7 separate regions of the Homo sapiens genome follow, and all the other regions are linked to region 2. The links are contacts of gene promoters, found by promoter capture Hi-C in blood cells and fetal thymus (Javierre and others, 2016). All regions are on one chromosome and are shown on one strand. Each heading gives the region's core, a stretch centred on a gene start or on the middle of the fragment in contact. The rest is flanking DNA. Distances are from core to core; before and after follow the strand shown.

Evidence for each region. The method cuts DNA at HindIII sites, captures the fragments that hold promoters and counts their contacts. A CHiCAGO score of 5 or more calls a contact.
Region 1: a fragment that was not itself captured here is called in contact with the fragment with the promoter of SAMM50 in region 2 in 11 of 17 cell types (naive CD4 T cells, non-activated CD4 T cells, naive CD8 T cells and 8 more); the score reaches 13.0 in naive CD4 T cells.
Region 3: a fragment that was not itself captured here is called in contact with the fragment with the promoter of SAMM50 in region 2 in 9 of 17 cell types (neutrophils, naive CD8 T cells, activated CD4 T cells and 6 more); the score reaches 7.4 in neutrophils.
Region 4: a contact is called between a fragment that was not itself captured here and the fragment with the promoter of SAMM50 in region 2, in 4 of 17 cell types (naive CD4 T cells, total CD8 T cells, naive CD8 T cells and 1 more). The highest score is 8.2, in naive CD4 T cells.
Region 5: a fragment that was not itself captured here is called in contact with the fragment with the promoter of SAMM50 in region 2 in 1 of 17 cell types (endothelial precursors); the score reaches 5.2 in endothelial precursors.
Region 6: a fragment that was not itself captured here is called in contact with the fragment with the promoter of SAMM50 in region 2 in 1 of 17 cell types (naive CD8 T cells); the score reaches 5.3 in naive CD8 T cells.
Region 7: a fragment that was not itself captured here is called in contact with the fragment with the promoter of SAMM50 in region 2 in 4 of 17 cell types (naive CD8 T cells, activated CD4 T cells, total CD8 T cells and 1 more); the score reaches 6.3 in naive CD8 T cells.

The regions. Positions count from the first base shown.
Region 1 is chr22:44,665,224-44,668,595 of GRCh38, forward strand. It overlaps LOC124905132 (a long non-coding RNA gene), which reads right to left and starts at 3,360. Exons shown (of 3, transcript XR_007068127.1): 1 at 3,108-3,360; 2 at 2,361-2,446. The HindIII fragment of the contact is 1,445 bases long and covers 1,058-2,502 here.
Region 2 is chr22:43,953,400-43,957,050 of GRCh38, forward strand. SAMM50 (SAMM50 sorting and assembly machinery component) reads left to right here and starts at 2,043. Exons shown (of 15, transcript NM_015380.5): 1 at 2,043-2,199. The coding sequence starts at 2,179. It also overlaps the pseudogene RPL35AP36. RefSeq lists enhancers at 1,268-2,020, 1,688-1,737, 1,818-1,897, 2,021-2,772, 2,578-2,787 and a silencer at 1,861-2,135. The HindIII fragment of the contact is 6,277 bases long and covers 1,194-3,651 here.
Region 3 is chr22:44,609,930-44,613,689 of GRCh38, forward strand. The region is part of intron 3 of LINC00229 (long intergenic non-protein coding RNA 229); the gene reads right to left. Among named protein-coding and RNA genes, the nearest start is that of LINC00229, 14 kb to the right of the region's middle. The HindIII fragment of the contact is 5,035 bases long and covers 1-3,760 here.
Region 4 is chr22:44,630,099-44,633,703 of GRCh38, forward strand. No RefSeq gene overlaps it. Among named protein-coding and RNA genes, the nearest start is that of LINC00229, 6.5 kb to the left of the region's middle. The HindIII fragment of the contact is 9,177 bases long and covers 1-3,605 here.
Region 5 is chr22:43,193,830-43,197,276 of GRCh38, forward strand. No RefSeq gene overlaps it. Among named protein-coding and RNA genes, the nearest start is that of TTLL12, 8.4 kb to the left of the region's middle. RefSeq lists an enhancer at 3,310-3,447. The HindIII fragment of the contact is 895 bases long and covers 1,237-2,131 here.
Region 6 is chr22:44,736,996-44,740,621 of GRCh38, forward strand. PRR5 (proline rich 5) reads left to right here. Exons shown (of 8, transcript NM_181333.4): 8 at 1-686. The coding sequence ends at 252. The region is part of intron 4 of PRR5-ARHGAP8 (PRR5-ARHGAP8 readthrough); the gene reads left to right. Among named protein-coding and RNA genes, the nearest start is that of ARHGAP8, 14 kb to the right of the region's middle. The HindIII fragment of the contact is 6,756 bases long and covers 1-3,626 here.
Region 7 is chr22:44,695,719-44,699,168 of GRCh38, forward strand. It overlaps a transcript of PRR5 not described here. Among named protein-coding and RNA genes, the nearest start is that of PRR5, 4.8 kb to the right of the region's middle. The HindIII fragment of the contact is 4,492 bases long and covers 1-3,450 here.

The DNA of each region.
Region 1 (3,372 bases), core at 530-3,029, 710 kb after region 2:
CCCCCGGAAGCCAGTGGAGCTAAAGCCTGGCAGAGCATCCGGGAAAGAGCTGTGGTCAGCATGCAACCCGCAGGGACTGCAAGGGTCAGCAGAGGGCAAGAGGAGAAATGCCTCATTCTCTCCGGCTGATCTCCAGCAACTGCCTCCATGGGTCAAATGTAACCAGGTGGGGGATGCCGTCCACCCAGGTCAGCCTCAGGGAGCACAAAGTAGGCAGTGAATGGATCTGGGGAGCAGGGGGCGCCACAAATGACGTGGCCAGAACCACGCACCATGGGGTCATGTATTCATTTACTCACTGATTCTTTCAACAAATACCTATTAGCCACCTTCTAATACGTGCCAAAGACTGTTTCCAAACACCCAGAGATACTTTGGGGAAGAAAAGAGACAACTCTCCTCTCTCTCAGGGAATTCATGAATTTCTGAATAAACTACACCATAAAGAAATAACCAGCCGGGCGCCGTGGCTCACGCCTGCAATCCCAACATTTTGGGAGGCCGAGGTGGGAGGATCACCTGAGGTCAGGAGTTCAAGACCAGCCTAGCTAACATAGTGAAACCCTGTCTCCACTAAAAATACAAAAAATTAGCCAGATGTGGTGGCGCGCGCCTGTAATCCCAGCTGCTCGGGAGGCTGAGGCAGGAGAATCGCTTGAACCCAGGAGGCAGAGGTTGCAGTGAGCCAAGATTGTGCCACTGCACTCCAGGTTGGGCAACAAGAGTGAAACTCCATCAAAAAAAAAAAAAAAAAGAGAGAGAGGGAGAGAGAGAGAGAGAGAGAGAGAGAGAGAGAGAGAAAGAAATTTAATGAACATTTTTTAAAAAAAAAATCCAATTAGAAAATAGGCAAAAGACATGAACACACCTACCACTCATAGGATTTACAGATGGTAAATAAGCTCTCAAGATCGTTTTGAATCTTTAACATCAATAGTCGTTAGAGGAAGGCAAATTAAAACCATGAGATCTCACTACACACCTATCAGCATGGCAAAAATAAAACACAGGGACAAGACGAAATGCTGGTAGGGATGCAGAGAAACTGGATCACTCAAGCTTTGCTGCTGGGAAGGCAAAGTGGTACACTCTGGAAAACATTTTGGCAGTTTCTTAAAAATCTAAACATGCAACTCCCATACGACCCAGCAATTACACTCCTGGGCACTCTTCCCAGACAAATGAAAACTTATGTTCACACAAAAACCTGTACACAAATGTTTATAGCAGCTTTATTGGTAATAGCCCCAAACTGGCAATCAACCCAGATAGTCTTCGACAAGTGAATGGCTAAACAAATTATGATGCACCCATTCCATGGAATGCTGACCACTCCACAATAGCAAGGAACAAACTACTGAAACACAAAGCAACCTGGAAGAATCTTCAGGGATTTATGCTGAGTGAAAAAAGCAATCTCAAAAGGTAACATACTGTATGACTGCATTTATATAACATGCTTGAAATGATAAAATTACAGAAATGGAGAACAGATAAGTGCTTGCCAGGAGGGAGGAGGGAGGGAGATAAGCACATAAAAAGTCCACGGGGGGGTCCTTTGCTGATGGAATGTTCTGTACCTTGATGGCATCTATGTCAATATCCTGGTTGTGATATTGTAGTATAATTTTGCAAGATTTTACCAGTGGAGAAAACTGGGTCCAAGACATCTCTACTGTTTCTTATAGCTGCATGTGAATCTACAATTATCTCAAAATAAGAAAGTTTAGGCTGGGCGTGCTGCCTCACACCTGTAATCCCAGGATTTTGGGAGGCCCAGGCGGGTGGATCACCTGAGGTCAGGAGTTTGAGACCAGCCTGGCCAACATAGTGAAACCCTGTCTCTACTAAAAATACAAAAATTAGTCGGGCATGGTGGCAGGCACCTGTAGCCCCAGCTACTCAGGAGGCTGAAGCAGGAGAACCACTCGAAATCAGGAGGCAGAGGTTGCAATGAGCCAAGATGGCACCACTGCACTCCAGCCTGGGTAACAGAGCGAGACTCGGTCTCAAGAAAAAAAAAAAAGAAAGAAAGAAGGAAAGTTTAATTAGAAGTGGGGGAGGTCCTAGTGGTCACACACCAAGAGGCTGGATTAGATGACCTCAAAGGTCCCTCCAAGGCCAGGACATCCCTCTTGGCAGCACGGGGCTCAGAACAGCTCCACCTCCTTCTGGCACCTCTTGGGCCGTTTCCAGCCCCACCCCAGTACTCGATCCAGGCACTGTCTGCCCAGTCTAGATGCCACCCAGACACTTTAGGCCCCTCTGTCCAGATGCCCTCTCCTCCCTCTAGGATGCCCCATCCTGCAGTTCAGGCAGAGCTGCTCACTCCCAGGGCCCTATGGACCCCATTAGAGTACCTGGGGTCTGGCCGGGATGCTTGCTGTCCTGAAATCTGGTCACCAGGAAGGCCGGCCATCTGATCTGCCTCATGTCAACACTGTTTCTGGGGGATGAGTGGCTTAGCGTCAAACAAGCACAATGATGGAAGGGGAAAAAAAAAGCTTTACAACTGAATATGGACACAAATATTTGCACAATTGCATTCTAAAACATTAAAACAATCACTACACCAAAACACAATAACCATAACCATCACCGCCCGAATGCCCACAGCCTGGCCTCTGGTACAGGACTTGCGGCTTCTACCAGGCACTGACTGTCAATCCTTTCGGGGATTCCTGGGACAGACACCACTGCTCCCCGCCCACTGCCCCCACCACAGCCACGTACCAACGGAGAGGTACTTAAACAGGGTGAGGCTGTTTAAGTGAAGAGTGAAAAGAAGCCCTTTTCGAGACACTGGGGTGTGGGATGTGGGTTGTGGGGTGCAGGATGTGGGGTGCTGGATGTTTCCACCAGGGCAGTTCTTCTCAAACTTTACTGAACTCTGGAACCACCCAGAAGGCTTGTTAAAATAGGGGGCCCAACCCCGAGTTTTGCTTCTGTAGGTCCGGGGTGGGGCCAGGGACTCTGCACTAACGGAGGCCACACTTTGAGAACCACAGCCCTGGGCTGTTTTTGGTGCCAGGCCCATTCGTCTTCCCCTCCCTCCCCGCTCCGCCCGCGGCTGGACCCCGATCCCCGGGACAGGGACTGAGTCTGACCGTCTGATTTGTCCTCCCGGCTTCTAGCGCCCCGCTCAGGTCGGGGCTTGGGGAGGGGGCGCTCTCTGGACGTTTGCGGCCCGCCGAGGGGTGGGGTGAGGGCGTCACGGGCCGATCCGGGCCGCCGGGTGACCCGGGACGCCCCCTGCCCCGGCGGGCGCCGCCCACAGCCTGCGCAGTGCTCAGGGGCGGAGGCCGGGAGGGGGCCCAAGCGCCAGCCCCCCAGCTCCGGCGGACCCGGGTGGGCGTGCCCGCGGACCCGCTT
Region 2 (3,651 bases), core at 793-3,292:
TCTTAAAGGTTCTCATCCAGAGTGGCACATCTCTCTTCTGCTCACAATGTGTTGACCAAAGCAAGTCACATGGATGGGAGCAGGGAGATGCAATCCTCTCTTGTGCCCAAAAGAGGAGCACAAGAAATACTGTTGAATAGCATTGCCAGAGGCCACAGAAAAATCTCCAAAACCAAAAATCTCTATGACCCAATAAATTCAAGAAATACTGGGTTAAAGAGAAGGAAACCAGTATATGCACTGTGAGACTTCTCAGTCTTTATTATATACATTGTAACCATCACAGACAGCCTTTAATATATACATCTTAACTATCACAGACAGCCTTCAGTATATTATATACATTATAACCATCACAGACAGCCTTCAATATATTATATACATTATAACCATCACAGACAGCCTTTAATATATACATTATAACTATCACAGCCTTTAATATATTATGTACATTGTAACTATCACAGCCTTTAATATATTATATACATTGTAACTACCACCGCCTTTAATATAGTATACCCATTGTAACTATCACAGCCTTTAATATACACATTGTTAACTACCACAGACAGCCTTTAATATATTATATACATTGTAACTATCACAGATAGCCTTTAATATATACATTGTAACTATCGCAGACAGCCCTTTGTTTGAGGGTAAAGCATGTGACTTTGTTTTCCTCCTGTTCCCTCTGCCATCCTCCAGGGCCTCACACACAATAGGCTCTCAAATATTGCAACCATCTTGCACTCTGCAGGGCAACCTCATGGCTTATCCTTTACAAGTGGCATACTCAGAAGAATAACGAGGAAGAAAGTGTAAGAAAAGAGGGCTGTTTGGGCAAAGAAAATCTGGTTGATTCGATGTTTACAGAGTGCCAGGCCCCATGCTTGATCTCATGAGGTCCTCAGACCTTATGCCTTAGGCTATCATTTCCATTTTACAGATAAGGAATTGAGGCTCAGGGAACTGAGAGTGAGGGAAGGGCAGGGGCCTGGCTGGTGCTGGGTTCTGTCTCTTTCCAGGCAAGAAGGGACATGTGGACTTGAATATTTAGCTCAGGGATGTTGGAGGCCTAGGGTGCTGCTATTTAAATGGAAAGGGTGTCAGGGTTTCTGGGAGGGAGTAAGGGGACAGAAGAAAAGATGCTTCTGTTATCAGAAGGGAGTGGCAACGTGACAGGATACTGAAGCTTCCTCTTTTCTTATTCTGTCTCGTTTCTTTCAATATACTTATCACAATGTGTGGCTGATATTTATTATGCCTTTTTCTTTTCTATTCTCTTTTCTTTTTTGGGGCAGGGGAGCTGTTTTGCCACCAAAACCTAAGCCCATGGCCGTCTTCTTCACCGATATGACTGGTTCTCATGCAAGCACCTAGATGGCCCTCGCCCATAATTACTGGCTGCAGTTGAGTGAATAGCGGTCATTATCTAGCGCCCACCGTGTGCCCGGCCCGGTGCCGGGAGCTTTGCTTTCCGTCTCTCACATTAGGCCCTTTTAATCCAACCCCCAAGAAGGAGACACGACCATCGTCTTCATTTTGACGATTTTGAGTGGGGGTTCCAATGACTTGAACGAAAGGAGCCAGGGCACCAATCCGGGTTTGTGTAGCAGATGCCGGTGAGACCCGACTACTGCAGCTCGGGGGTGGCCGGACCCGGGGTCTCCCCGCTGAGTCTCGGGGCTTCACCGGCGCGTGGGCACAAGCACAGCACCCTCGGGTCGGGGGTGCTAGGAGGGCTAAGAGCAGCAGGACTTGAGTGACACCCAACAGCTGGTCTGATCTCTTTCAGGCGCCAACGCCAGACGCCAGCCTCCCAGCGGACCCTCTCGCAGACCCACCTTCACCCCACGCGCCCTCCCCACACAGTCCACGCGCCAGCAGCTTCGCGGATGTCAGTGAACGCTCTTCGCTTGCGCAGTCAGAACGTCCTCCGCGGCCGTGTGAACATCCGGGTCACAGGCGCATAAGGACCAATGAGCGAAGGCATCGCGAGCCAGGGGGCGCGGAGAAGGCGGGGAATCATGGCCGCCCCCAGTGTTCCGCGTCCGGGGGTTTGTGGGAGTTGCCTTGACCTGCAGCTCCGCCACCGCGGACCCGCCTTCTGCCCTCAGCAGCAGACGCTCTGTCCCGCCCGGGCAGCTCTGCGAGGCAGCGGCTGGAGAGGGAACCATGGGGACTGTGCACGCCCGGGTAAGAGGCCCAGCGACCCGCGGGCTGCGAGGCCTCTGGGCCAGCAGGGCAGACGGGCGCCGCGGGGAGACGCTCTCGTGGCTGCGCCCAGGGTTCACCGGGAGAGAGGGTGCCAAGGGTGCCGGGCTGGGTGGAGGAGGCCGAAAAGAGGTCGCCTCGGGCCAGCGAGTCTTGCAGACCTTCGAGCAGGAACCTGATAGGAGGGACGAGACTTGGCTAAAGGTCACTCGGCGAGTCCGTGGCCCAAAGGACTTGCCAACTTTCTGTGATGTCTTAGACCGCAGTGAATGTGCTCTTTCTTTGCATGATTTTAAGTTTTCTCTCTTTACTGGTCACTTCCAGCCTTTCCCCGCTCAGCCGCTGCTGGAGCCATTGTAGGCTCCTAGAGCAACAAGAATCCTTTGAAGTCTTCTAACTCAAACCTATCTAGGGGTCCTCTTTTCTCCTGTCTACCGTGCAAAAGACGGAACCGCTCTCTGCCTTACTTCCTGTTTTAAAGTGGAGGTAGTAATAGTACCTACCTCGCCTGGCTTAAAAGAGAATTAAAAGACAATGCATGTGAATACTTGGGTGCCTGGCGCCTGACTAACTGTACTGGTTGCCAAACTCCTCTCGTTTATCCTAATCTTAAATAAGGGCCAGATAATGAGTTACTTCTCCAAGGTCACATAGTTACTGGTTCCAAATGGCCTAAAACCTCAGATTTCCTGAGTCTCAGCCCCAACACTACTTTTCTACTGCAACTTTGATTGCTTCACTTGACCTGCATAGACGTTTTCAGTAGTTCCCCATTAACTTCCAAAAAAATTTAGCACAGAAGTCGCAGCCTGACATCGATAATTGGACTTAACTTCCCTTTATATGTCTTTCATTCAGATCAAACACCGTTTCTCTTCTGACATCTCTTTGTGTAACTGTAATAGGTCTGTTGCTCAGTGTGCTCGATAAGTCAATACACTCAGACAGTGGGTTGCAGCAGAGAAAGAGTTTCAGTTGCAGGGCCGCTGAACGAGGAGATGGGAAAAGAGAGGAAACCTCAAATCCATCTCCTTCAGGAGTTTGGACCTCATGTTTTTGCTGAAGTGTGGAGATCCTTGATTGGTGGAAGAGTGAAGGGTGAAGTTATGGGACAGGGAGATGAGGAAACTTCTCATGCTGATTCCGTTCCTCTGTTGCGGGGAGGAGTCTTCAAACTGGTTGGCAGCATCAGTTTTGCTGGAATTCGAGATCTGAAAAACATCTAAAGCAACTCTTAAGCAAAAGCCTTATGATTCTAATTTTAGAAATCCTATCTGTAAAATCAATGGGGATGCAAATAGTATCTGTGACTTTTGGTTACTAGCAAGTAGGTCAGAGTGCAACCTGAGCTCTTCCTGCCATCTTGGCTCCTGTGGCGGCCTGCCGGGAGCAGGACTTCTGAAAGGAAATATGTCTGGAAGGCTGTGGTCCAAG
Region 3 (3,760 bases), core at 722-3,221, 660 kb after region 2:
GCCCATCACCCAGCCACCCACTGGCACAGTGCCCAACCACTCTTCTCCCCCGCCCCCTGCCTACTCTACTCAGTGACCAGATGAATCTTCTAGCTCCTCCTCTGCCCTGACCTCAGGTGACAAGCTGTGGCTTGCTGGGGAAGCCCAGTGGCTCACCGGGCACCAAAGCCCTCCCTGCAGGTGAGGACCAAGGAGCCCACCCAGCTGGTGCGGAGGCAGGAGGGACACGTCTGCCCTGCACTCTGAATCATGCAGGCATTTGATCCTTAATAACAATATGAGGAGGAGCTGTATCAAGTCTCAGGGTTTTTATGGGCCAAAAGTGATCCCACATTGGCAATTTCGTATAGTTCAATGTGATCATAATTATTAAGGTGTTAGGAGCCCTCTTAACAGAGCAGGCATCGTTCCAAGTTCTTTACACGTGTTTACTTCACCAGCATTTCTGACAGCCGTATCAGACGGCCCATGATGAGGACATAGAGCTCAGAGAAGTGAAGTAACTAACTCAATATCACACCTCTCCCACACACCTAACAGAATGGCTAAAATGAAAAATAATGACACCAGACACTCACAAGGATGTGAAGAACCCGGATCATGATATGCTGCTGCTATGGATGTCTTGGGACAGACACACTGGAAAAACAGCTTGGCTATTTCTTAAAAAATCTAAACATAGGCCGAGCGCGGTGGCTCACATCTGTAATCCCAGCACTTTGGGAGTTTGAGACCAGCCTGGCCAACATGATGAAACCCTGTCTACTGAAAATACAAAAAAATTAGCCAGGCATGGTGGTGCGTGCCTGTAATCCCAGCTACTCGGGAGGCTGAGGCAGGAGAATCGTTTGAACCCCAGAGGCAGAGGTTGCAGTGAGCTGAGATCGTGCCACTGCACTCCAGCTGGGCAACAAGAGCAAAACTCCGTCTCAAAAAAAAAAAAAAAAAAACTAAACATATAATTACCGGGTGACCCAGCAATTGCATTCCTGGGCACTCGTCTTAAAGAAATAAAACATCTGCACAAAAACCTGTACACAAGTGTTCATAGCAGCTTGACTTGTCATAGCCAAAACTGGAAACAGCCCTGATGTCCTTCATCCACCAATGGTTAAACAGGAACATCCAGGCCAGGCGCGGTGGCTCACGGCTGTAATCCCAGCACTTGGGGAGGCCAAGGCAGGCAGATCACCTGAGGTCAGGAGTTCGAGACCAGCCTGGCCAACATGGATAAACCCTGTCTCTACTAAAAACACAAAATTAGCTGGGCGTGGTGGCGCATGCCTGTAATCCCAGCTACTTGGGAGGCTGAGGCAGGAGAATCACTTGAACCCAGGAGGCAGAGGTTGCAGTGAGCCAAGATCATGCCATTGCAATCCAGCCTGGGCAACAAGAGGGAAATTCCATCTCAAAAAAAGAAAGAAAGAAAGAAACAGGAACATCCAGGCCGTGGGACCGTACTCTGCAGTAAAAAGGAACTATTAATCCACTCAGCAAGCTGGAGGAATCCAGGGAATTAGGCTGAGTGAATAAAAGCAATCCCAAAAAGTATGATGCAGCACAAGTCCGTGTATACATTTTTGTAATGAAAAAACTTTAGAATTGGAGGACAGATAGGTGGTGCCAGGGATTAGGGATGTGGAAGAGGGGTGGGTGTGGCCATAAAAAGGTAACTCCAACTCCAAGGATTCTCATGGTGATGGAGCTCTTCCACACCATGACAGGGGTGGTGGAGACAGGAACCTGCACAAATGATAAAGCTGTACAGAATTCACACACACACACACCCACGCACACACACATACACACTAGTACAGGCAAACTGGAGAAATCTGAATAGGATTGGTGGATTGCCCCAGTGTCCATTTCCTGGTTGTACTATTATTGTACTATAGTTTTGCAAAATATTGCCATCGAAGGAAACTGGGCAAAATGTGTAAAGGACACCTTCCTGTTCTTCTTTTTTTTTTTTTTTGAGACAGAGTCTTGCTCTGTTGCCCAGGCTGGAGTGCAGTGGTGCCATCTCTGCTCACTGCAACCTCTGCCTCCTGGGTGGTTATAAGTAAAATGCTTATTCCCTTAGAAATGCTTGTTCCTTGGTGCCAAAAAGAACAACTAGAGCTCAGACAAAGAATTTTCTCAGCAAGGCAACTTTGCTTTCTGCAGAAAGGGTGCTCCTCACAGATGCAGCAATGGCGAGAGCACACCTGAACAAAGGAGGGAAGCAATTTTTATCCCTTATGCGGTTTGTCCCTGCTACTGTGTCCTGTCTCCATTGGCTGGAGCTGGACCTCACAATCTAAGCTAAACCTGACTGGTTAATAACTTAAAACTTTCCTAAATAGGTAAAGTCAAGGGAGAACAAAGGAAAAGAGGAAGTTGCTTATGAAAAGACTTAGAGAAGTAATAACATTTCCAAATAAAGAAGGTGCATAAGCTGTGAGCTGGGACATGCCTGAGCATGTCTAGAACAAATACCTTGGTTAAAGTACAAGGACATAGAATGCACTCATTCCCTTATATCTAAAAGCTACCTAGGATAGGGCTTAACAAACAGTTATTAGCACAAAGCAAGGAGGCTTGAAGGAAGTTAGCCTTTAAAAGAAACTATTATTTCTAACACTTATGATTTATTCTTTAACAAGAAGGGAAACTTTGAAGAGGAATCTTTTTACTTTCCACACTGGGTTCCAGTGATTCTCCTGCCTAAGCCTCCTGAGTAGCTGGGATTACAGGGGTGCACCACCATGACCAGCTAATTTTTAGTAGAGACGGGGTTTCACCATGTTGGTCAGGCTGGTCTTGAATTCCTGGCCTTAAGTGATCTGCCCACCTCAGCCTCCCAAACTGCTGAGATTATAGGTGTGAGCCACTGCACCTGGCCTCCTTGCTATTACTTTTTTTTTTTTTTTTGAGACAGAGTCTCACCCTGCACTGGAGTGCAGTGGTGCGATCTCAGCTCACTGCAACCTCCACCTCCTGGGTTCAAGCGATTCTCCTGCCTCAGCCTCCCAAGTAGTTGGGACTATGGCCGTGTGCCACCTTGCCCAGCTAATTTTTGTATTTTCAGTAGAGACAGGGTTTCACCGTGTTGGCCAGGATAATCTCAATCTCTTGATCTCATGATCCTCCTGCCCCAGCCTCCCAAAGTGCTGGGATTAAAGGTGTGAGCCACCGCACCCGGCCTATTACTTCTTACAACTGTGTGTGCATCTACAATTATCTCTATGTTTTTAATTAACATTTTCTTTAAAGATGGCAAATTAAAAAAAAAAAAGGCTGTCACCACCCAGAGGAACCTAATGGGACATGACAACTAAATGTCATGTGGGATCCTGAGTGGGATCTTGGATCAGAAAAAGGATGTTAGGTTAAAAACGAACAAAACTGAATAAAATATGGGCTTTTGTTAATGAGAATGTTAGCAACATTGGTTTAATACTCGCATCAAATGTACCATGCTGATGCAAGATGCTAAAAATAGGAGAACTAGGGGCAGGGTGTGTGGGAACTCTCTGTATTATCATCTTAATTTCACTTGTAAGTCTACAAATGTTCTTTAAAAAAGTCTACTTAAAATTTTTTGAAGATACCAAATAACTACTTTATAAAAAGGTTTGAAAGCACCTGTGAAAGCTACATTGAGTCCAACCCTTTGACCCAGCAATTCCACTCCTAAATATATACCCAAAAGTAATGAGATCTTGTGTCCACCAAAGGCATATAAAATAAAATTCAGTCAGGCATGGTGGCTCATGCC
Region 4 (3,605 bases), core at 130-2,629, 680 kb after region 2:
TTCAACTCTGAACCTAGAACTGCTCTAAAAATAAAGTCTATTAATTTTGTTAAGGCAGATTGAGAGGTACCATTAAGGATACGCAAGAAGTAGGGGGCCAGGAGTGTGTAGGGGCCCCATCCTGTCTGGGAGACTCAGCAGTCACCCAGCCAAGCCAAGCTCAGTGTCTGTGTCTGCAGGGGGTATCCCTGACAGAGTCCCAGGAGTGTCTTGGAAAGGGGAGGTCACGAAAGGCCTTTGTAAGTCAGGGTCCTGGGTCTAAGCAGTTTGTGGAGATGGACTGGGACTGGGTGAACCTAGTGACACAGCAGAATGGCACTGGGGACGCAGTGAGGCGTGGGTTTCAAGCATGTCCTGGTGAGAGAGCAGTCATTTCACGAGCAAGCAGCTCACCCAGTGAGGTGAGCTATTGTTCAGATAAATGGATTCCAGGAAGTTCCTGAAACAAGAAAGTCCTTTGCAACTGTGTCTTCCTGAGCAAGGATTTTCTGGAATGGCCTGGTCATAGTATCACGTGCAGTTGTAGCTCTCGGTTGGATGAGCTATGGGCTGGCGGTTTGTTCTTAGGCCCTAGAGGATGGACCCAGGGACTGGCAAGGGCAAAACCTGAGGCTCCAAAGAGCTCAGAGGAGAGCAGGGAGTCAATCACATGAGGCCTCAGTTTTCCCATCTATAAAATAGATGGTGGCCTGCGTGGATTCATAGGGCCCTTCTAGCTCTCCTGGATGAGTCTGTTTGAATCCAGGCCCTGGGGAGGAGGGATGGGTGGGGGCTGGGAAGTCGCCCATGGGAGATCACAGTGGAGCAGTGACAGAGGCAGAGTTGGATCCAAATGTCCCAACGCCCAGTCCAGCCTGCTCCCTGGCCCCTCTCCCTGACCAAGAAGGGTGGGGAGCCAGGAGTGGGGCTGGGCCTTCCAGAGACACAACCACCTCATCCCTCCCTACAGCCCACCAGTCTGAGACCCTGGTTCCTCTGCCTCTCTCGGCTCCTTGTCCTGTGGCCAGCCCATGCCTGTCACCTCATGGCCAGCCCCTGGCTGTCACCACCTCTCCTTGCATCCCCCTGGGCCTAACCCACTCCCTCAAATCCATTCCCTGTGCTGGGAAGATCCATCTTAGCAAAACTCAAGTCTGATCCTGTCACTCACCTGCTCAAAAACCCCCATGGCTCCCCATTGCCCTGTAGACAAAGACTCTCCTCACCGTATCGGAATCCTAGCTGCCTATGTTGTGTATATTGATCCCAAAATTCACATGGAAATGCAGCGGGCCCAGAAAAACCAAACAATCTTGAAAAAAAAAATAGGAGGACTCATACTTCCCAACTTCAAAACTTACAGCAAAGCTACAGCTATCAAGATGGTGTGGTACTGGCATAATTAAAGACATATAGGTCAATAGAACAGAGTAAGAGTTCAGAAATAAACCCATACATACATATATGGCCAATCGATATTCAACGAGGGTGCCAAGACAATCAAAGAAGAATCATCTTTCAACAAATGGAGCTAAGACAACTGGGTATCCACATGCAAAAGAGTGAAGCTGGACCCCTACCTCACTCCATATACAAAAACTAACTCAAAATGGATCAAAGACAGCCATGGAAGAGTTGCCACTACAAAAATCAGAAGAGGTCAGGTGCCAATCTTCGTGACTGAATTAGGCAAGAGTTTCTTCGTTGTGACACCAAAAGCACAAGCAATGAAAGAAAAAACATAGAAAATGGATTTCATCAAAATGAAAAACTTGTGCTTTGAAGGACATTCACAAGAAAGTGACAAAACAGCTCAAAGAATAGAAGGAACTATTTGTAAACCACATATCTAATACAGATATAGTATTTAGACTATATAAAGAACTACTACAACTCAATAATTTAAAAAAACAAATATCCACATTAAAAAGTGACCAAAGGAGGCTGGGCACAGTGGCTTACACCTATAATTTCAGCACTTTGGGAGGCCAAGGTGGGGTGATCACTTGAGGTCAGGAGTTCGAGACCAGCCTGGCCAACATGGCAAAACCCTGTCTCTACTAAAAATACAAAAATTAGCGGGACATGGTGGCGGGTGCCTGTAATCCCAGCTACTTGGGAGGCTGAGGCAGGAGAATCACTTGAACCCAGGAGGCGGAGGTTGCAGTGAACTGAGATCACACCACTGCACTTCAGCCTGGGTTATAGAGTGAGACTCTGTTTCAAAAAAAAGTGACCAAAGGATTTGAAGATACACTTCTCTAGACAAGACATACTCATGGCAACAGGCACGTGAAAAGGGGCCTGATATCACTAGTCATCAGAAAAAATGCAAATCAAACCCACAATGTCACAGCACTTCACAATCACAATGATGGCTATACCAAAAAAAAAGAAATGACAATAACAAATTGAGGCAAGGATGTAGTGAAATTAGAGCCCTCATACATTGCTGACGGGAAGGTAAAATAGCGCAGGAGGTTTGAAGAAAAGCCGGGAAGTTCCTCAGAAAATTAAACATAGAGTTACAGCAATCTCACCCCAGATATCTACTCAAGAAAACAGAAACACATGTCCACACAAAAATGTACACTTGAATGTTTACAGCAGCACTATTCACAACAGCAAAATATGGAAACAATCCAAATTTCCATCAACAGAAAATGGATAAACATAACGTGCTATGCACATCCAACCATAAAAAGGACTGAAGTCCTAACAAGTGACACATCGTGGGTCAACCTTCAAAACATGGTGCTCAGTGAAAGAAGCCTGACATGAAAGGCCACAGATTCTAGGTTTCCTTGTGTATGAAATGTCCAGAATAGGGAAACCTACAGAAACAGAAAGATTGGTGATTGCCAAGTGCTGGGGGTATGGGGGAAGGGGAAGTATCTACTAACGGGAACAGAGTTTCTTTCAGGGAGATGTAAAGGTTCTGGAATTAGATTGGTGGTTGCACAATCTTGTGAATATACTAAAAACTACACTGTATGCTCTAAGAGGGTGAATTTTGTGATATATGACTTGACCTCAGGTTTTATCAAAGGCCCTCCAGACTCCTTAGCTGGCATTTGGGAGCCACCCCAGCAGGTCCCACGGCCTCTCCTGCCTCATCTCTCACTCAAACCTCCTAACCACATCCTCATCCTCTACCACCCTGGGAACCCTGTGAGGTCACACCCCACCCCCACTGAACAACCCCATCACAGCCCTCATCACCCAGCATTGGGGTGGTGAACTGTCCTCCACCCCACCGTGAGCTCCCCTGGGTCAGAGACCAGGCTGGCTACCCCTGTGTCCACAGCACCCAGCAGGGGCCCCATAGATCCACAGAGTAGACATCAGACAAAGAGCAGAGGTGGATGAATGGATAGATAGATGTTTGGATGGGTGATGGATAAATGAATGGATGGATGGGTGGATAGTTGGATGGGGGGATGGAAGATGACTGGATGAATGCATGGAAAATGGGTAGGTGGATCAGTGGATGGATGGATGAATGAATGATTGAACAGATAAATTGATGGATGGATAAATGAGTGGATGGATGATGAATGGATAGATGAACGGATGGTTGGATATAGGTGGAAGGATGATAGGTGGATGGATGGGTGGATACATAG
Region 5 (3,447 bases), core at 434-2,933, 760 kb before region 2:
TGATTCTCCTGCCTCAGCTTCCTATGTAGCTGGGATTACAGGTGCATGCCACCACGCCTGGTTAATTTTTTGTATTTTTAGTAGACATGCGGTTTCATCATGTTGGTCAGGCTGGTCTCAAACTCCTGACCTCAGGTGATTCGCCTTCCTTGGCCTCCCAAAATGCTGGGATTACAGCCACTGCTCCCAGCCTGTTCTTTTTTTTTTTTCTTTTCTTTTTTTTTTTTTTTGAGACGGAGTCTTGCTCTGTTACCCAGGCTGGAGTGCAGTGGCCCGATCTCGGCTCACTGCAACCTCCACCTCCTGGATTCACACCATTCTCCTGCCTCAGCCTCCCGAGTAGCTGGGACTACAGGCGCCTGCCTCCACACCCGGCTAGTTTTTTGTATTTTTAGTAGAGACAGGGTTTCACTGTGTTAGCCAAGATGGTCTTGATCTCCTGACCTCGTGATCCGCCCGCCTCGGCCTCCCAAAGTGCTGGGATTACAGGTGTGAGCCACCATGCCTGGCCGCCTGTTCATTTTTAAATTAGGTTATTTGTCTTATTGTTGAGTTGTAAGAGTTCTTTACATATCCTGGATACTGGAGTCTTATCAGATATGTGATTTGTAAAGGTTTTTTTCCTATTCTGTTATCTTTTCACTTTCTTCACAGAGCCCTTTGAAGTACAAGTTTTCAATTTTGGTGAAGTCCAATTTATATATTTTTTCTTTGGTGCCTTATTATTTGTGTGTTACATTTAAGAAGGCATTGCCTGGGTAGAGGGTGTACTGCTCAGGTGATGGGTGCACCAAGGTTTCAGAAATCACCACTAAAGAACTTATTCATGTAACCAAACACCACCTGTTCCCCCAAAACTTAACGGAAATACAAAAATTGAAGTTAAAAAAAAAAGAAGCCATTGCCTAATTCAAGATTCCAAAGACTTATTTATCTGTCTTAGTTTCTAAGAGTTTTATAGTTTTAGCTGTTACATTTCAGTCGTTGATCACTTTGAGTTGATTTTTTGTATAGGAGGTAGGGGTCCAACTTCCTTTCTTTTGCATGTAGATATCCAGTTGTCCTAGTACCATTTGTTGAAGAGACTATTTTTTCCCCATTAAATGGTTTTGGCACTCTCGTTGAAAACCAACTGATGGATGATAAATTTAAGGGTTCATTTCTGGACTCTGAATTCTATTCCATTGATCTGTAGGTCTGTCCTTCTGCTAGTACCACAAAATCTTGATTAATGTAAGCTTGTAGTAAGTTTTAAAAATGAGAAGCGTGAATCCTCCAATTTTGTTCTTTTTCAAGACTGTTTGGCTACTATGGGTCTCTTGCATTTCTATATGAATTTTAGGATTCGCATGTCAGTTTGTGCACGAAGCCAGCCTGGATGTTGATGGGGATTGCACTGAATCTCTAGACCAATTTGGGGAGTACTGTCATCTTGACAATACTGTCTTCCAATCCAAGAGTACAGATCTTCTTTAATTTCTTTTCTCTTTTTTTGAGATGGGGTCTTACTTTGTCACCCAGGGTGGAGTGCAGTGGCTGGATCTCGGCTCACTGCAACCTCTGCCTCCTAGGCTCAAGCGATCCTCTCACCTCGGCCTACCGAGTAGCTACGACCACAGGTGCGTGCCACCATGCCTGGCTAATTTTTTGTATTTTTGGTAGAGACAAGGCTTCTCCATGTTGCACTGGTTGGTCTTGAACTCCTGAGCTCAGGCTCTCCACCCACCTTGGCCTCCCAAAGTGCTGGGATTACAGGGGTGAGCCACTGTGCCCACCGTACAACTGATTTTTATATATTGATCTTATGTTCTGTAACCTTGTGAATTTCATCAGCTCTAGTAATTATTTGTGGATTCCTTAAGTATCTTCCATATAGAAGATCAGGACATGTGAAATGGATAATTTTGTTTCCGTTCCAATCTGGATGCTGTTTATATTTTTTTCCTGCCTAATTGTCCTGGCTAGACCTCCAGCAGAGCGGTGCAGGCACGCATCCTGGTCTTGTTCCTGCACATGTTGCTTTTAAGATATATCCCTTTTGTTGCAGGATGTTAATTAATTGTCATAGCTACATAATATTTAATTACGTGACTATGATGCAGTTTTCCACGAAGAGACTTAGGTTATCTTAAGCTTTTTGCTCTAATAAACATGAGGCTATGAATAGTTTTGTATATTTCCTGGAACATATATGTAAAAAAGAGATTCCCTATTTGTATACAGTAAGTTGATCCATATCCTCTCTGATTCTGATTTTATCACACTTATTATTGTTTTTTTGCCAACCTAGTGCTAACATGGCATATTTTTGTTGTCTCAATTTATATTTCCATTTGTGTGTGTGTGAAAGCAAGTTTATTAGAGAAGTAAAGAAACAAAAGCATGGCTACTCCTAGGCAGAGCAGCCTGTATTTCCATTATTATTAATGAGATTGAGCACCTTTTCAAATGGTAATTGGCTGTCCTGTTTCTTCTTCTGCGAAATGCATGTATATATCTTTTGTCAGTTTTTATTTTTTATTTTTCATTTTTTGTAGAGATGGGGGAGTCTTGCCATGTTGCCCAGGCTGGTCTCGAACTCCTGGACACATGCAATCCTCCTGCTTTGGCTTCCCAAAGTGCTGGGATTATAGGTGTGAGCCACTGCACCTGACCCTAGATTTCTTTTAGAACCTGAGGAAAGCTGTGGGCCATATTCCCAGAGAAATAGAAATGTGTATCTGTACATGCATGTGTACACACACACACACACACACACACACACACACACACAGCATTGCGTGCCGAATTTCAATGAGTCATAGATTCCCTGAGGCTCACTGTGACCATGACTTCCAGATTAAAGCCCCAGTGTCAAAGAACAACTCTTGGCCGGACACGGTGGCTCACGCCTGTAATCCCAGAACTTTGGGAGGCTGAGGCGGGCGGATCACGAGGTCAGAGATCGAGACCATCCTGGCTAACACGGAGAAACTCCGTCTCTACTAAAAATACAAAAAATTAGCCAGGCGTGGTGGCGGGCGCCTGTAGTCCCAGCTACCCGGGAGGCTGAGGAAGGAGAATGGCGTGAGCTCAGGAGGCGGAGCTTGCAGTGAGCCGAGATCACGCCACTACTCTAGCCTGGGCAACAGTGAGACTCTTGTCTGAAAAAAAAAAAAACAAAAACAAAACTCTCATTTCATCATGAGTTATGCGGGGAAATGGGATTTGAAATATGGACATTTTGCCTTCTGCCAGTTAGAAGCATGTCTGTTCCCTAAATGTGGGCGCCCCCTGCGTCTGTACGTAGATCTCCACCTCGCTGCTTTATTTTCCAGAGGTTACTGTAGCTCCTTACTTTCAGTCCTCAATAGCGTCATGAAATTTCTTCCATTATTTTTTCTTTTCTGGATTCCAGTTAGCATTTCCCCCCAACTCATGACTTCTGCTGAATAAGAGAAAAGAGCA
Region 6 (3,626 bases), core at 617-3,116, 780 kb after region 2:
ACCTTCAGGTCCTCCCCGGCGCCCCACTCAGGGCCCTGCCCCAGCAGACTGTACCCCACGACCCAGCCCCCTGAGCAGGGCTTGGATCCCACCCGCAGCTCCCTGCCCCGCTCCAGCCCGGAGAACCTGGTGGACCAGATCCTGGAGTCCGTGGACTCGGATTCTGAAGGGATTTTCATTGACTTTGGCCGGGGCCGGGGCTCTGGCATGTCCGACTTGGAGGGCTCTGGGGGCCGGCAGAGTGTCGTGTGAGGCCTCACAGCTGGCCTTGAGTTTTTACTGACACGTCCCTGTGTGCGGGGGTGTCCATGTGGCGTGTGTGTGAGTGAGACTTTTTTACTGCGTCCCGTCCCGCCAGCCCTATCGGCCTCGTCACTGGCCTTGGTCACTTTGTATTTCTGTCTTGGTTGGAAATACCATCAGCCTTCCTTGCTCGGCCCAGGTCTGTTTCAGGCATCTGAGTCGGCGTTTACCCAGGGGCCGGGCCAGAGACGGGGGTCGGCCGCTCGCTCCCACGCTCCTCCTGCCCCAGCCCTCTGGTGTCCACACCTGCCCACAGAGAATGTAAACCCAGTGGGCTCTGCCCACGCCGGGCCCCAAAGTGACCAGACTCCAGCACACCTGTCTCCTCCTGCCTGGGGTGGCCATGGGGATGGAAGGGGGTGGAATAAAACCTGTCAACCTGGCTCATGTCTGCAGTGCCTGCCCTGGGGGCGCCCCTTCAGGGTGCTCACCCTCAGGCCTTCGCTCCCTTCTAGGGAGCGCAGGTTTCCAGGGTCTGTGTGGAGGGGGCAGACCTGTGCCTGTTGTCCAGGCCTCCCTACTGCTCCACCGTCCCTGTCCCTGATGGGAGGACCGGGAGGTTGTGGAAGGAAGGGCTGGGATGCTAGGGAGTGGGGCTGGCCCTGCCGCACAGGAGTCTGGCCCTGACTTTGCCCCTGGCCTTAGCAGGGATGGACTCACTGAAGCCTTTGAAGGAGGGAAGGAGGGGTGGGGGCGGGATCTGCCAGCTCCTCCCGTGCTACAGAAGCGTCCAGGTGGCCTAGGGGGTGGGGGTGACCTGCTGAAGGCCATCCGGCCTGGGAAGCACAAACTAACACCTGCTCTGACCTCCCCTGCAGCCTCACTATCCCCAGACAGGCTTTCCCCGGGCCCTCAGGTGGGCAGGATACCGCATCAGCCGTAGCAGGCAGGGCTCTTTGTTCCCCCGTCAGTGGGGCCCGAGTGTTACTGAGAGCCAAAGGCCAGCCCAGCACCACGGGCACCCCTACTATCGGGGCAGGAGCTGAGCCTGGGGCAGCCTTCCCTAGCCACCCCCGCCGTTTTAAAGCATCGGGTCAGCGTGGCCTCCATGGGGAGGGGTGGAGGGGTCTCTAACGGCGGGCACCTTTCCACACCCCGTTCACCTGCTGATCTGCCACCCCCGCAGCCTTCCACGCGCTCGCCTCTCATGGCGTTTTCTCAAGGTGGGAAAGGAGTGCTGAGCAAATGAAGGACAGGCCCAGGGCAGGGGAACCAGGTGTGATTGGAGGGAGAGGGTGGGTGTGAGCCGGGCGTGAGCAGGAGGACGTCACCTGACCCCTGAGTCACGGCCGGAGCTGGCCCAGGCTGTCTCCCAGCAGAGCCTTCTGGATGGAGGAGTTTCCCTCTCTGGTGGGAGAAGCAGACCTGGCGCCCCTGCTTCAGCTCAGGATAGGAGGGTGTAGGGGTGGGGGCAGGGGGAGCTCTGGCTTTCTGACTCTGCTGAGCCGCAGTTTTGTCATCTGTGATACGGGTGCATACCAACCCTGTGGAGCTCTCTGAAGCTACTCGGAATGGGTAATGTGCCCCAGGCAGGGCTCAGCTGGGCAAGTAGGGGAGCAAGAGCAGCCTCGGGACCCAGGCCTGGGGGACAGGTGGTCGTTGAACAGAAAGCCAGAACCTGGTCTGAGAACCACTAAGCCAGGCTGATGAGGCCGAGATCCGTGGACCAACCTCTTTGGCTCCCAGCTCCATCATGGAGCCCGAGGTGGCCTGAGGCGGGGAGTAGTGGGTGACCATTAGCAACATGGGCAGGAGGGTTCCCAGCGGTCACCTCAAGGCAGGAGGACCAAAGACCAGAAGCCGTGGCAGGGAGTTGCTGTCTGGGCTCTGTCCACACCAGGGTGCTAGACCCTGTGTTCTGTCCCCTGAGTGGTGGGGGTTCCATCGTGGGGGGTCGAGCATCCCTGGCCCCTGGATGCTGCCGGGCCTGGGGTGGCCCAGGGACTGGTGGCCCCTGCTGGCTGGCACTTGGACCCTTGGCAAGGCAGTCCCTAAGCTCTCAGTCCTCCTGCCCTGGGGCAGGAGGGGAGGCCCCTGGGCAGCAGCCAGCAGCATCCCCAACCACAGATTGGGGGGCTGCAGTCCAGGAGGGTGGGTGCTGGGCCTGGGCCCTGCAGCAGCTCACAGGACTCAGTGGGGGCCCCAAGGAGGTGAGGAGGCTGCACTCCCACTCCCAGAAAGCAGCAGCCCACCAAGAGGGTGTGTGTGTGTGTCCTAGCCTTGTTCCCAAAGATGTCAGAGGTGATCTGCATTCAGACATCTTATAAATTGGTAAACACCTGTAATCCCAACAGAGTCTCGCTCTGTCACCCAGGCTGGAGTGCAGTGGCGCAATCTCATCTCACTGCAACCTCTGCCTCCTAGGTTCAAGTGATACTCCTGCCTCAGCCTCCCGAGTAGCTGGGGCTATAGGCATGCATCACCATGCCTGGCTAATTTTTCTATTTTTAGTAGAGACGGGGTTTCACCATGTTGACCAGGTTATTCTTGAACTCCTGACCTCAGGTGATCCGCCCACTTCGGCCTCCCAAAGTGCTGGAATTACAAGCATGAGCCACTGCACCCGGCCCTTATTTATCTTTTAAGGAATAGAGTGACTCAGGGAAGAGGCGTGGGAGACCGTGTGCTCCATCCTGTTTGGTCTTCAAGGCATCCTCCTGGAGAGCTGCGCCTTGTCACAGTCAGGGCTCGATGAAATTATGTTGACAACAGAAATGAGCAGACACGGCTTCTTAACATTTGCTGTTCTGTCTTCCACACCCTAAGGTTTGTTAAACGAGTGAAATCGGTGGTTAATTAGTTAGTGGTTGGTCTACCATCGGCATCACCGGGGTGTCCAGTGGGGTGGATTCCTCTGCATCTCCAGGGCTGGGGTTCTAGAAACTGCTTTATCGTTGTTGTCTTTTGTGTGCTTGTTGTAAGTTTTGTGCAGGATTCTCGTGAACGCTCTACCCCTTACCTCTCAAATGCACAATCTCAGGCCCTGGCCCCATCTGCTGACCCTAAATCTGCATTTCAGCCCCGCCTTGGGGTCCGTGGGCCTGCCGGGACATGTGAGCCTCACCTGCACTGTGACAGCGTCTGGGGTGGAGGTGGCACTTAGGAAAACCCAGGGTGGGTTACGATAGGCTTCCCAGTGACCCTGACTGCACCCCTGCTGAGAGCTCAGATTTGTTTGGGCGTCCGTGTGTGTGTGTGTGTGTGTGTGTGTAAGTGGGTAGGTGTGTGTGTCTGCACGCACGCACAAGTGTTTGGGGGTGTGTGTGTGCGCGCGCGCGAGAGTGGATGGGTGGGTGTGTGTGTGTGTGTGTGTGTGTGTGTGT
Region 7 (3,450 bases), core at 119-2,618, 740 kb after region 2:
CTCCTCAGTATCTGGGATTACAGATGCACACCAACATGCCCAGCTAATTTTTTTGTATTTTTAGTAGAGACAGGGTTTCACCATGTTGACTAGGCTGGTCTCGAACCCCTGACCTCAAGTGATCCACCCATCTCGGTCTCCCAAAGTGCGCCCAGCCTGTCAGGGTTTTTTTAAACACAAGTGATTCCATTTTGATTCTGACAACTTTTTTTTTTTTTTTTTTTTTTTTTGATACAGAGTCCCTCTCTGTCACCCAGGCTGGAGTGCAATGGCACAGTCACTGAAACCTCCACCTCCCAGGTTTAAGTGATTTTCCTGCCTCAGCCTCCTGAGTAGCTGGGATTACAGGCACACACCACCACACTTGGCTAATTTTTGTATTTTTAGTAGAGATGGGGTTTCACCATGTTGGCCAGGCTGGTCTGGAATTCCTGACCTCAGGTGATCCACCCGCCTCAGCCTCCCAAAGTGCTGGCATAACAGGCATGAGCCACCGCGTCCAGCCAATTCTGACAACTTTGACACAAAGGAGGTGGCAGAGCTGAGGGCAGACCCAGTTTGGGAGATTCCAAAACCTGTCTCTGCAATGCCATCCTCGAGCTTGGACAGTCACCTCCTTATACCACAGAGGCACCTATTGAGAGACTAGAATCAGGTTATAAAACACCTGCCCCAGAAGAGACTTTGGAAACCGATTGGTGTTCAAGACCTGGCTGACAGGTGGGAAGGTGGCTTGGAGAGAGAATCTTATGCAGGTGCATGTGTGACGTCTGGTGTATTAAGACCAGGGACCTGCTGGCCAGAGCCCCCTCCCCGGCCCCTAGAACTGAAATCCAGAACAAAAGGAGGGCACGTGTCTTGGGTGCACAGAACCAGACCACCAGGGTGGAGAAGGGCTCAGATGGAGTCCTGGTAGCTCAGCTGGTCAAGAGAAGACTTAAAGGAAGCGGTCCACCTTCAAACCTCAAGGCTGCTGTGGGACCAAGGAAGACATGAACTTACGTATTTATTTATTTATTTATTTATTTATTTATTTGAGATGCAGTCCTGCTCTGTCGCCCAGGCTAGAGTGCAGTGGCACGATCTTGGCTCACTGTAAACTCCGCTTCCAGGGTTCGAGCGATTCTCCTGCCTCAGCCTCCCTAGTAGCTGGGACTACAGGTGTGCACCACCATATCCGGCTAATTTTTGTATTTTTAGTAGAGACAGGGTTTCACCATGTTAGCCAGGGTAGTCTCCAACTCCTGACCTCAGGTGATCCACTGGCCTCAGCCTCCTAAAGTACTGGGATCACAGGCGTGAGCCACCACACCCGGCCAGGACATGAACATATCAGATGGCAGAGCTAGGAAGGGACGATGGGCTCACCTTCTGGTAGCAGGGACCATGTCTTTCTTGTTCCTTGCTGTGTTCCCCACACAGCCTCAGTTTCCCCAGTCGTGAAATGGGAATAATAACAGTTGATCCTGGCTCCAAGGCCACCAGGTCCGGTGGCCTGGTGCTTGGTGCCGGAGTCACCGCGAGTACCCTGGGCTCCCCCAGCGTGGTGGCCCTGACTCAGGAACCTCCTTCTGCCGTGCGACCACCCTGGCGGCGGTCACCAAGCCCTTGGCGTGCCCCTGTGACTGTGTGTGGATTTTTTCTGTGCCCTCACAGGGCAGTGGTGTCACCCTTCTCGCCCATCTCAGGGAAGGGATGGGACGGCCCGGATGGCAGAGACTGTGGGGACAGAGCCAGGCACTCCCCATGGCTTTCCGTGCCCAGCACGTTGCCAGGCCTCTTCCAGGGTGTCCGGGACTGACCAGGCTGCTCCTCAGGGGGCAGAAGGCACTTTTGGGTCGGCTTTGAGGGAACACCAGGCTTCGCCACCAGGGGGCGGACGTGCCCCTCCAGAGCAGGCAGTGCCTAGGAAAGCAGGCAGGGCGTGGGCAACTGAGGTCACCACCTGAGGGCCGTGCCCCGGGGAGAGTGGGCGAGATGGAGGCTGTCTCTCTCTCCCGCCCAGCCCGCAGGGCTCCAGCCTCAGCTCCCCCACTTGCTGACTCTGACCTCGGACATACGCCTCGGCCTCCCTGGGCCTCTGTTTGTCTGTCTGTAAAATGGGACTGGTCTCCCACTTGGCAGCCTTGTGGGGACGAGTCGGGGCAGTGTGTTTAGTGGCCGCCCCTGTATCATGCCTATAGTACCCCTCCCTGGGCCCCAAACTGGCCCCTTCAGGGGTATGCTGTCTCCTCCCTTTGGCTGGCCTGTGTCCCAGAGATCATGATGTCACTTGCAGTGCTGATGGACTAGAACTCAGAGTCCCGGGTTCATGAGCTGCCCTGACTTACTGGTCTGTTCCTGTCCCCTGGGTGTCCAGCCGGGGCTGAGCCAGGCTTAGGGATTGCAGGCCCTTCAGAAGGGTAGTTCTGAGGATATCAGGGTCCCCCTTGGTGACCAAGGGGATCCTCTACCAGCTGCCGACACCCCACTGGCCAGGGGGAGTTTGGAATGAGTTTGGGTCCTGGGGAGGAGAGGACGTGGTTGATGCCATCGGGCCTGGCACCTTCCTGGAGCAGGGGCCACTCTGGTGGCTTTGGGGATGTGTGAATGAGTCTGGAGCAGGGGTGGCTCTGGTGGCTTTGGGGTTGTGTGAATGAGTCTGGAGCAGAGGTGGCTCTGGTGGCTTTGGGGATGTGTGAATGAGTCTGGAGTGGGGGCCACTCTGGTGGCTTTGGGGATGTGTGACTGAGTCCCTTTGTCTCTCATTTCCTTAACAGAGGGACATTTCCCTTCCCTGGTCTCAGACACAAATGAGCCCTGCCCAGGGTACCCCGCCACAATACAATTGCTGGGTCCCCCAGCCCCCTCCTCAGACCCAGAAAGCCCCATAAGTGAGAGGAGGGCCCGGTGGGCACCTGGAGGCCTTGTGCCTGCTGGCAGGGGCAGTAGCCGGGTGGGAGCTGTCACGTGGGGCTCAGGCCCAGCAAGACTGTCACCTGATGCTTCAGGGCGGCCAGAATCCGGGTTTCTGTGTCAATCTCTCCGTTGTAAAATGTTGTAAGATGTTGGCCGCACGCAGTTTGGTTTATTTTCCTCCGACGCTGCAGGCCACACAGAGCACACTTAGGGGCTAGACTCCGCCCTTTGTCCCCCAGTTGCCCCCTGCTCTGAGGGTTTGTGACAGCTCTGTCCCCTTGTGGCCTCTGCCTGGGGTTTCTGGCCCCGGGGCAGCCCCGCAGCTGTGCCCTCTCTGCCTGTCACGGCCCAAACCCAGAGCACTAGCACCTTTGCTTGAGCCTCCACTGCCCTCCTGGCGCTGGGCTGTTGGGTGTAGACAGATTTTACACATCTGTGGCTGGGGCCAGGGAGAGGTTATAGCTAATTCCTTAACGCTGACTAGAGATGCCTTTTTTAAAGATCTCTTTAAAATTCCTCAGCCATCCCCACCTCCGGAATTTCTGGCTGGCC